Regions from separate parts of the Homo sapiens genome. Here regions 2 and 3 are each linked to region 1. Evidence: promoter capture Hi-C in 16 types of primary human blood cells and fetal thymus (Javierre and others, 2016). All regions are on one chromosome and are shown on one strand. Each heading gives the region's core, a stretch centred on a gene start or on the middle of the fragment in contact. The rest is flanking DNA. Distances are from core to core; before and after follow the strand shown. Region 1 holds the start of FAM3C (FAM3 metabolism regulating signaling molecule C). Region 2 overlaps LOC124901733 (a long non-coding RNA gene). Region 3 overlaps PTPRZ1 (protein tyrosine phosphatase receptor type Z1).

Evidence for each region. The method cuts DNA at HindIII sites, captures the fragments that hold promoters and counts their contacts. A CHiCAGO score of 5 or more calls a contact.
Region 2: a fragment that was not itself captured here is called in contact with the fragment with the promoter of FAM3C in region 1 in 2 of 17 cell types (naive B cells and activated CD4 T cells); the score reaches 5.8 in naive B cells.
Region 3: a contact is called between a fragment that was not itself captured here and the fragment with the promoter of FAM3C in region 1, in 1 of 17 cell types (total B cells). The highest score is 5.4, in total B cells.

What each region holds. Positions count from the first base shown.
Region 1 is chr7:121,394,992-121,398,052 of GRCh38, forward strand. It overlaps FAM3C (FAM3 metabolism regulating signaling molecule C), which reads right to left and starts at 1,317. Exons shown (of 10, transcript NM_014888.3): 1 at 1,171-1,317. RefSeq lists enhancers at 354-939, 940-1,524 and silencers at 752-1,581, 1,622-1,681. The HindIII fragment of the contact is 3,372 bases long and covers 1-3,057 here.
Region 2 is chr7:120,858,543-120,861,755 of GRCh38, forward strand. The region is part of intron 1 of LOC124901733 (a long non-coding RNA gene); the gene reads left to right. Among named protein-coding and RNA genes, the nearest start is that of TSPAN12, 2.0 kb to the left of the region's middle. The HindIII fragment of the contact is 2,773 bases long and covers 114-2,886 here.
Region 3 is chr7:121,995,374-121,998,283 of GRCh38, forward strand. It overlaps PTPRZ1 (protein tyrosine phosphatase receptor type Z1), which reads left to right. Exons shown (of 30, transcript NM_002851.3): 9 at 1,009-1,193; 10 at 2,507-2,633. Among named protein-coding and RNA genes, the nearest start is that of PTPRZ1, 120 kb to the left of the region's middle. The HindIII fragment of the contact is 5,791 bases long and covers 1-2,910 here.

The sequences.
Region 1 (3,061 bases), core at 67-2,566:
CAGCATTGACCTTTACTCTCGGGAGTTCATATTTCCATCTGTAAAACTAGAAAAGATAAAGGGACTTATTCACTGAGCTGTTGTGAGAATAAATGAGCACACGAAACCATTTGGCAGTGCCTAGTACACAGTAAGCAATCTAATATTATTTATGTCATTGTATCCATATATATATGGATACATACATATATATGGATACATGGATACATACATATATACGGATACATACATATATATGGATACATACATACATATATATGGATACATACATATATATGGATACATACATATATATGGATACATACATATATATGGATACATACATACATATATATATATGGATACATACACCTGGCTAATTTTTTTATTTTTTAGTAGAGACGAGGTTTCACCATGTTGGCCAAAAAGAAACAAAGGAAAAGTCCTATCAATTAGATAGCAGTTCTATATTACAGGCAATAATATTTTTTCTTAAAAAAAAAAAAGGTAGAGGATGATGGAAACCGCTCCTCCCACAAGTAAAACAGCTGGAGCTCTCAATCTCAAATTGCCAATCCGTCACTCACATATTCAGATCTAGGGCCACTAATCATCATCCGTGGTCCCGAGCTGTGAGAGCAGTAGCAAACAAATAGGAAGAAAAAGAAGAGACACCAAACATCAAAGGGCTGGATAGCTTGTAAAAAACCAAAAGTACCTCTAGTATAGGCGACACTAAAACTTTACAAGTGAGTCAAAACGGCCCCCTATGGAGTTGGAATGCAACACCCAACTCCGTCCCCACCTCTCGGAGCTCTCAGCCTACACGCTGCAGGGGCGCGAGCCACAGCCAACCTGGGGAAGATGCGACCCAGGTGCCCGCCCCAGGCCGGGGCGCCGAGTGCCAGCGCCAGGTGCAGACGCCGCCCCGTCTCCGCGGAGCCCGGGGATGCCCACGCCGGGGCGGCGGCCGGGAACCCCGGCCAGCGGCTCTCCGGGACCCCAGTCCCGCCTGCGCCCTCTCCAACGTCCGGACACGCCGTGACAACGCGGCCGGGCCCGGGGCCCGCCCCCGGCCGGTGACCGCAGTGCGCGGAGGCTGAAGTCGTAGGTGGGCGTCTGGCTTCCCCGGCCTCCTCCATCCCTCCCCGAACCTGAGCCCCGGCTCCGTCCGCCTCCCAGCCGTCTCACCGGCCTCCCGCCCGCCTCTCCGCCGCGCGCGCCCGCCTTCCGGCCTCCCAGCGCTCAGTCCTGCCGGAGGCCGACGGGAGCCGCCGCCTCCAGCTCGCGCCTCCGCTTCCTCTCGGACTCCTCCGGCTGCCCCTCACCCCGGCAAGTGGCCAGGAGAAAGCCAGCTCGCCGCTGGGCCTCCTCCCACGCTTCCCGGCCGCGACCAATGGGCCCCCGCCGCCGGGAAGCCGCGCCCGCCCCCTGGCGGTGGAGGACCAAGCGGGCGCCCGGGCCGGCCAGAGGGAAGGGCCGGAGAGCGGAGGGAGGGGTCTGCGGTCCCGCCCACCGCCCCCGGCCAGGCGCTGCACAATCTGAACTTGCCACGTGGGAGCTGCCGCCGCCGCAGCGGCCCTGCGCCGGGTGGCACTACGGGAGGGAGAAAAATGTGTCACCGCCGTCTCCCCACCGTTTACACGCACAAAATCCCAGCCTCAAGGGCAGAACATTTTAAATGACCCACCCATCCTAGAGATGCGCCAGTTAGGTCATCTTATATATCTTGAGATAGCTGAGATGGTCAGATCAACCAAGGACCTTGGGTTATTTGCCGTTTGACTTCTTGAACCCTAGGAAACTGATTCTGAAAATCCTACTGTCCAGCGTCATTAGAATTCTGATCACCTTTAATGCACCACCCAAGAAGAACAGTAGTCCTTGCATTTTCCAAGTCACGTTTATTTTTTAAATTATAAGATACACAATCGTTAGAAATATTTTTTCTCAGGAGATTTCCTACAATTGTGTTGATAATTGGGAAGTTAATCCAAATCTTACTACATAAGACCTTAGAATGCAAAATTATTTCATAATTCAGATCCATATTCTAAAATAATGAATAACTGTTACCTAGTATTTGACAGAATATTGGGATCATCAGTGGTTGCAGAAATTAAATTGCATTTAAAAATAGGGTTTGACTATAGTGTGTTAATATAGAATTAATAATCTACCAAATTTTAGCTTTCCTCCAAAAATATAAAACACACAAACTAATAGTAACTATGAATTCTGGAGTTTGTGATCCGTGATCAGGGGAGAAAGCATGAAATGAATTCTCATTGTCTTCCATGTGCCAATATTATGCTATTTGTGTATTACTTAAATCAAAAAACTAAGACTCCAAAACTGAGTTTAAATATCTTGCTCAAAAATACAAGATAGTAAGTTATGAAGCTGGAATTCCGGCCTAGCTTCATGTAGCTCCAAATAAACAAAAAGGCACTTTGCTTATTATAGTACCAAAAAATCATAACACTTACTGTACACATGCCTCTCCTAGACTGCTATGTCTCACTGAAAGAGTTTATGAAGCCTCTTGAGTAGGGAGGTCACGGTGTATTTCTGAAAGAGCAATCTGCTCTGTAACCGAGCCAACCAGATTGGAAATTACATGTGACATATTCTTATAGCACCACACCTGAAACAATTCCTGTGCATAAAGTTTAATGTGTTAGTAGCCTATTCTCCACTGACCATAAGATATAGCTTAGAACCCTTTGGTAGGTAATGAAATTAATAACAATGGGTCACAACCAACATTTTGTTGCTGTTGATTCACTGAAAAATAGAAAAAAAAAACAGTTCAAAGCATAAATTCAGGATAAGTATTCTTCATGAAACATTTGTACAGCATCATGTGTGGGTGAGTGTCTGTGTGTCTATGTCCTGGATACAGTAGAAATTATATTTCTTAATATGGGTTTCAATTTTTTTAACATTGGTAAATCACTTCTTTAGGACTCCTGTTAATCAGCCAGTTCTTACACCTATAAACGAGTAAGGATAACTTCCTACTTTTACTTGGCAGGAGGTAGGGGAGCCAGGAGAAGTATTCAGGATTAATGATTAAGCT
Region 2 (3,213 bases), core at 250-2,749, 540 kb before region 1:
TTTCCCACTTTCATAGTGCACTAATAGCATTTACGGAAACATCAGAGTAATCATGTGCAGTCTGACATGCAGAAGAGGAGGAAAGAACATTTTTAACTCTTAGAAGTAACTCAAGCTTTCCAAAATTTCTCACGATAAGATTGTTTTGAGTTAACTGGGTGATTTATTTTGAAATGTGTACATAGTAGTGGATCTTTGGAAAATCTAATTTTTTTAAACTAGAAATTCATGAAGTATTACACAGCAGGAGACCATCCTTCCAAAAGAATCTTCCCTTTTAGAAGACAGAAGTTTCACACTAAATAAAATGCCACTGGATCATATCCTCCACATAAAATGTGGATGTGTTGTGCTATGCCTCACAGTACTGCTCATTTCTAGGATTACTTTTGTGGGCACTGCATGGCAAATAAAACTTCACCAGCAAATATGAATTACCTGGAATACGAGCAACATCTTTGACCTAATAACTGGAGTCCTTGGATTTCCTTGCAGAAAAAAAAAAAAAAAAAAAAATGGAATCCTATGTCCATGACTGCCTGTCTAGAGTTAGTTGCTGCATGACTGGAGTGACAATAAGACATGCAGTCTCATATGGAAAAGTCAAGACCAAAAGACAACATGGTTGTCCTGGGTTAGGCTAGGAAAATTATTGGTAAGCAAGTCACTAAGCAGTATGTAAGACAGCAACCCAAAAGAGTATAAAGAAGTATAGCCATACACAAAAAAAACACCAAGAAACATGTCCAGTTATCCATCAGATGACTCCAACTCTGATAATGAAGCAGCTTCTAGAATACTGGGGAAGAGCAAAGAAACCCACTTTTATCCTCTGCCAGTTTCTTCTCAAATTAGGGTGCATGCCTATTTTAAGCAAAGGACTGCTGAAACAACCAGCCATCCAAATGCTGTTGGTGCCATACATTCCCCGGAGAGGTATAAACATCCCCGCATTGAAAGGAGTCCATGACTGCTATTAAAACTGAGAAAAAGAGTGCCAACAATTCCCATGTGTCAAAGCAGAGATCCTCTTCTACTCCTAGAAGGTAGTTAAGTGCCCTTTCCTTAATTCGTATACCTTTAAGGGTCAACTGCCTTAAAGTAATAAAATACTAGAGGAAGTTACTTTAGAAGTATGCATGTCCTCTTCTTCCTGGTAAACAAGAAATACAGATCCAAGATAAAGTAGTTGCTCAACGTCACATCTGTAGTCCAACCTAGATTCCAAAGTAAAATCCAGAATAATGGCTCTTAGTACTCTAGTTTAATGGTTCTCGAAATTGTTGTACACGAGAATCACTTGGAGAGCTTTGAAACAACCCTAATTCTCTGGCATGCCTGATACCACTTAAATCGGAGTCTCTGCAGGTGAGGCCTAGACACACAGGGTTTTCCAAGCTCCCAAGGTAATTCTAGTTTGCAGCAAAATTTGAAAACCCTGCAACGAGGGCTTTACAGCTGCCTAAAAACTAGCAAAAGGGTCTCTTTAGATTTCGTTGGATCAAATCCCTCTCCTGTGAGTCGATAAATTGGGATTATTATCCCCATTTTACAAGTTAAGAAGAAAACAGAGCTGTAGTTACTGCTCTAATATTCCTGATAAATGGTCATCAGAGACAGTGAATCAACATTTCAGTAGAGGAGACCTCACCACATTTGAGACATTGCAGTAATGGGCAGTTTTTATTGCTTAAACTTGACCATACCACCTTTTAACTTCTACCCTTCAACCTTAGTTCCGCCCTTGGAGTCCATGGCATGAGCAAGCCTTCCTCCCATATGACAGCCCTTCAACTACTTGAAGGCAGCTGTTCTTCCCTCCCTCTCCAATTCTTCTCTTTCCCAGAATTGTGGAAGCACAGTAAGACTTCACATCGCAGCTGTCATTCTGAGGGTTCTATATTTTTCTCTGTGAGATCTGTTTTTTTGTGTGTGTGAACAAAAGGAGGATAGAAATATCATAATATGCACATAAAAATTTGAATATGTAATAACATATTAGGAAAATTGTATGGTCTATTTACTACCCATTAGTCAGGAACCCAATTCTGTGGCCAGGTGTTCTCCAATAAGTATCATTTCAGTGGTGGTATCTACTGTGCCTCATGCTGAAGATACTAAGACAAGTTCTTACCCTCCAAGAAAAGGCAAAACTATCCTTTCTTATTATATAATAATAATAACAATAATAATGACATCAAAAAGTAATAAAATAAGCATTTACAAGGAATCACATACATGTCAGTCCCAGTGTCAGGAGTAAAACTCAGCTATATGTAAGAGAATACAAGTTCCTCACTCCGTATGGCAGCTTGTTTGTTCATATCTTATTCTATTCATTCTGCTAAAGTTGTGGAGAGAAAAAGGATAACACAGGAGTTTGGATGTATGAGTTGCTATTCCTTCTTAGTACAAGACCCTCACAAGTACTCCTAAGCCAGTACTTTACAATTAATATGGGATAGACACCTAATGTGTTTTGAACAAATTACATGTGTCTGACATAATAGGTGCTTCTCACAATTTATCTTATTAATTCCTCATAACTATATGTTGAGATACTTGAAATCAATTCAGATAGCTGATTTTTGCCAGACCCACACAGGTAGTAAATAAAGAAGCTGAGATTCTAAGATCTGTCTGATTCTTTCCACTGTTTATCTGCATTACAATAAAATTTCAAATCTGGTTGGACAAGACTTAAGAGGAAAATTTTCGAACTTTTTAAAGTTAGTTTTCGAGAATATGAAGCTGAAATTCAAATATGTGTACTTAAACTATGACTGGTAAATCTACTTTCACCTCACTTCTAAAAGAGTATACAGACCTAATAAGACCTGAGAAAATCCTTTCATTACTGAATTAAGTAGACTGCTTTCTACTGTAAGCTTAGGATTGCCAGATAAAATACAAGACACCTCATTAGATTTAAATTTCAGATAAACAACAATTTTTTATTTTTTGGTATAGGCATGTCCCAAATGTTGCATGGGACAAATATTGCACTGGACATACATATACTAAAAAATTATTCAATGTCTACCTGAAATTCAAATTGAATTGCAAACCCTACATTTGTATTAGTTGAATCTGGCCTCCCTATGCAAACTAGCAAATGCACTCAAAGAGCCACAAAAACAAATATGTTTCACATAACAATGAGTCCAGGAATAGCGATTCATCTGCCCAGTAGTGATATCAAGGAATCAGTTC
Region 3 (2,910 bases), core at 177-2,676, 600 kb after region 1:
TCTCCCTCTGCTTTGCAAATCTGGCCCATGAAGAGATATTTATTACTCTGCTTCGTTAGTAAAATATCATAAAATGTTATAGTTTTTCTTTTCCAAATTAGTCCAAACTATCACATTATAAGTGCATTTTGGAAAGTACCAGGGCACTCTCTGATGGGACTAAATTTGGGGCATGATTCCCAGCATGGGCCTGAATTCATTTTAAGAAGTCTCTGAATGATTTTTCATAATACTACTTTTTCAGATGAGACAAACAAGTCTCTTAATTCCCTAAAATTATTTTCTTAATTTACTTATGATAACAAAATGGGATTTTTGTCAGCACGTCTGAAAAATACTGAAATGGCAATTTTAGGTTTTCTTTGGTTTTCTCTGGTTGGGAATTTTAAATTAGTTCAAGGATTGTCTAATAACAAAATGTTCCGATAATAGTATGTCTTTCATAATTGAAATTATCCTCATCCTGAACTGAATATATTTTCAGGTACCAAACAAGAGAAATTAAGTCATCATGAGCTTGCAGATATTCTTTGTTCATTTATTTCTAAAAATGAATCTGTATGCCAGGTATATTCAAAACAATGTTCTAGGCAATATAGAACTACAGAGCTATGGTTCTTATGTTTATAATCCACTAGAGGAGTCAAGATTCATTCAGGAAAAATACAATACGAAAGTATGCAAATAATGCAGTAATAATGATAAAATAGGCAATTGACAATGACAGAGATCACTTCAGTAGAGATTAATGTGAGTAATGAAGGAGGTAGCATTTGACCAAGACCTTTCCAGAATGGAAAGCTGGGATTTGAACAGATAGAGTTAAGAGGGGTGGAAAGAGTATTTTAGATATAGGAAATGGAATAAGCAAAAGCTCCACAGTGGGAAAGTGTAACTTTTTACTTTACATTGAAATAAAACACAATAAAATTTTTATAGAATATGTTTTATTTATTCAAGTCCTCAAGGCTAAGTTCTATCAACAACTGTACTTTTTTCTCTCTGAAGTTTGTAGTTCAGAACCAGAAAATGTTCAGGCTGACCCAGAGAATTATACCAGCCTTCTTGTTACATGGGAAAGACCTCGAGTCGTTTATGATACCATGATTGAGAAGTTTGCAGTTTTGTACCAGCAGTTGGATGGAGAGGACCAAACCAAGCATGAATTTTTGACAGATGGCTATCAAGACTTGGTAACTATATGATCAGTTGTTTTACATAGGGTAACATTATAATTTAATTTCCAAGGTAAGAACTTACAAATGGTTGTATATTATTTTCCTCCATTACTTTTAGACTTTATGTGAAGGTGGGGTAGGCTGAGTATTTTTAAATTTAAAAAAAAATTTTAAATTAGAAGCTATACTAAATTATGTTTAAAGTTACATTTAATTAAATGGATATCATAACTTTGCCAACAATAACACTATAGAGTAGATACATATGACTTATGAACTGGAGATCATTTAGTGTGGCCTTTCTTAAGATTTCAGTTGTAGAATAGTGCCAGAATCTCAGTGCCCTGATACATTTTATATTGTGTCTTCCATTACGCTATATCAGCACAGGAAAAGTAGAGTAGGGGACATACAAGTCCTCTTTGTTGCACCAAAAAATTTTCAGATAACAGCTGGGAAGTCATGATTGGGTCAGAACTTTGGGGATGTAAGAAAACATTTCTTACAAAAAGATCCACCCCTGCCTCCCTCCACCAGCGCATGCGAATAAAGTACAGATTCCCTTTGTGGCCTGAGCATGTCAGTATTAAACTTTGCTCTGGTAGGGAAGTGTTGGCCATAGATTAGGGTGTAGTTGACAAACCTTCATCTGGATGTAGGTCCAGAAAGTCCCCACTGCAGGTTAAAGGACACTGGACTCTGCACTCAGGCACCTAGAGTCCTGCAAGTCCTGGGAACCTGCATTTAAATAAAAATGCACTATTAATTATGTTTCATATCATGTGGACAAAATGGATAAAATTTTAGTAACCTTTTAATTCAGTTGCCTGGAATATGGAGACACAATGACCTGGGAAAATCGTGAAATAAATAGTAATAAAAATGTTTATTTCATAATTACGTGAAGAAGATAATTCTATTACTGTTCTTGCATATATATTGTCAAGAAAAAGAGATAACTTAGTTGTTCACTTTTTCACATTGCTCCTTGTTTGCAAATGCCCCCCATTTATTTGTCTAAAATATTAATTTTTAGTTTGTAGTACTAATTTATGAATTTGATGAGTTCTGGCTAAAAATGAAACTTCCTGAAACTAAATCTGATTTTTAAAAAGCAAAAAAAAAAAAAAAGCCTAGCTTTCCAGTTCTTCATAATTCACAAATACCACAAGTTTAACTAAGCAACATTGCATAAACTTTTCCTTAGGTTAATAAAATAGAAGTATTTTCCACGGACCAGGGAGAAAAAGTTTTCTAGGAAAGATACCTAGTGTGTTGGTAGTCCTATGAGAATAACATTTGTATAATTACTAACATCTTTCTTTTAGGGTGCTATTCTCAATAATTTGCTACCCAATATGAGTTATGTTCTTCAGATAGTAGCCATATGCACTAATGGCTTATATGGAAAATACAGCGACCAACTGATTGTCGACATGCCTACTGATAATCCTGGTAAGTGCCACCAGATACATCTATATATTAACTCAATAAATGAGGTTAGTTTAATTACTGTATGCATTGATGCTTTCTCTCTATATTCTTTTGGCCAAAAGGCAAAGTGATTTTCTCTTAAGTCTGGATTGCCGGGTAATTTTTTGGGGCATGGGACCCATTTCTCATTCAGCAGGTCTGGTGCCAGACAATAAGTAAACTTATCCTTAATATTGGAGTTTACCATTTGTAAAATAAGAGTGACTAAACATATTTATAACATTGTAATAATCATTAA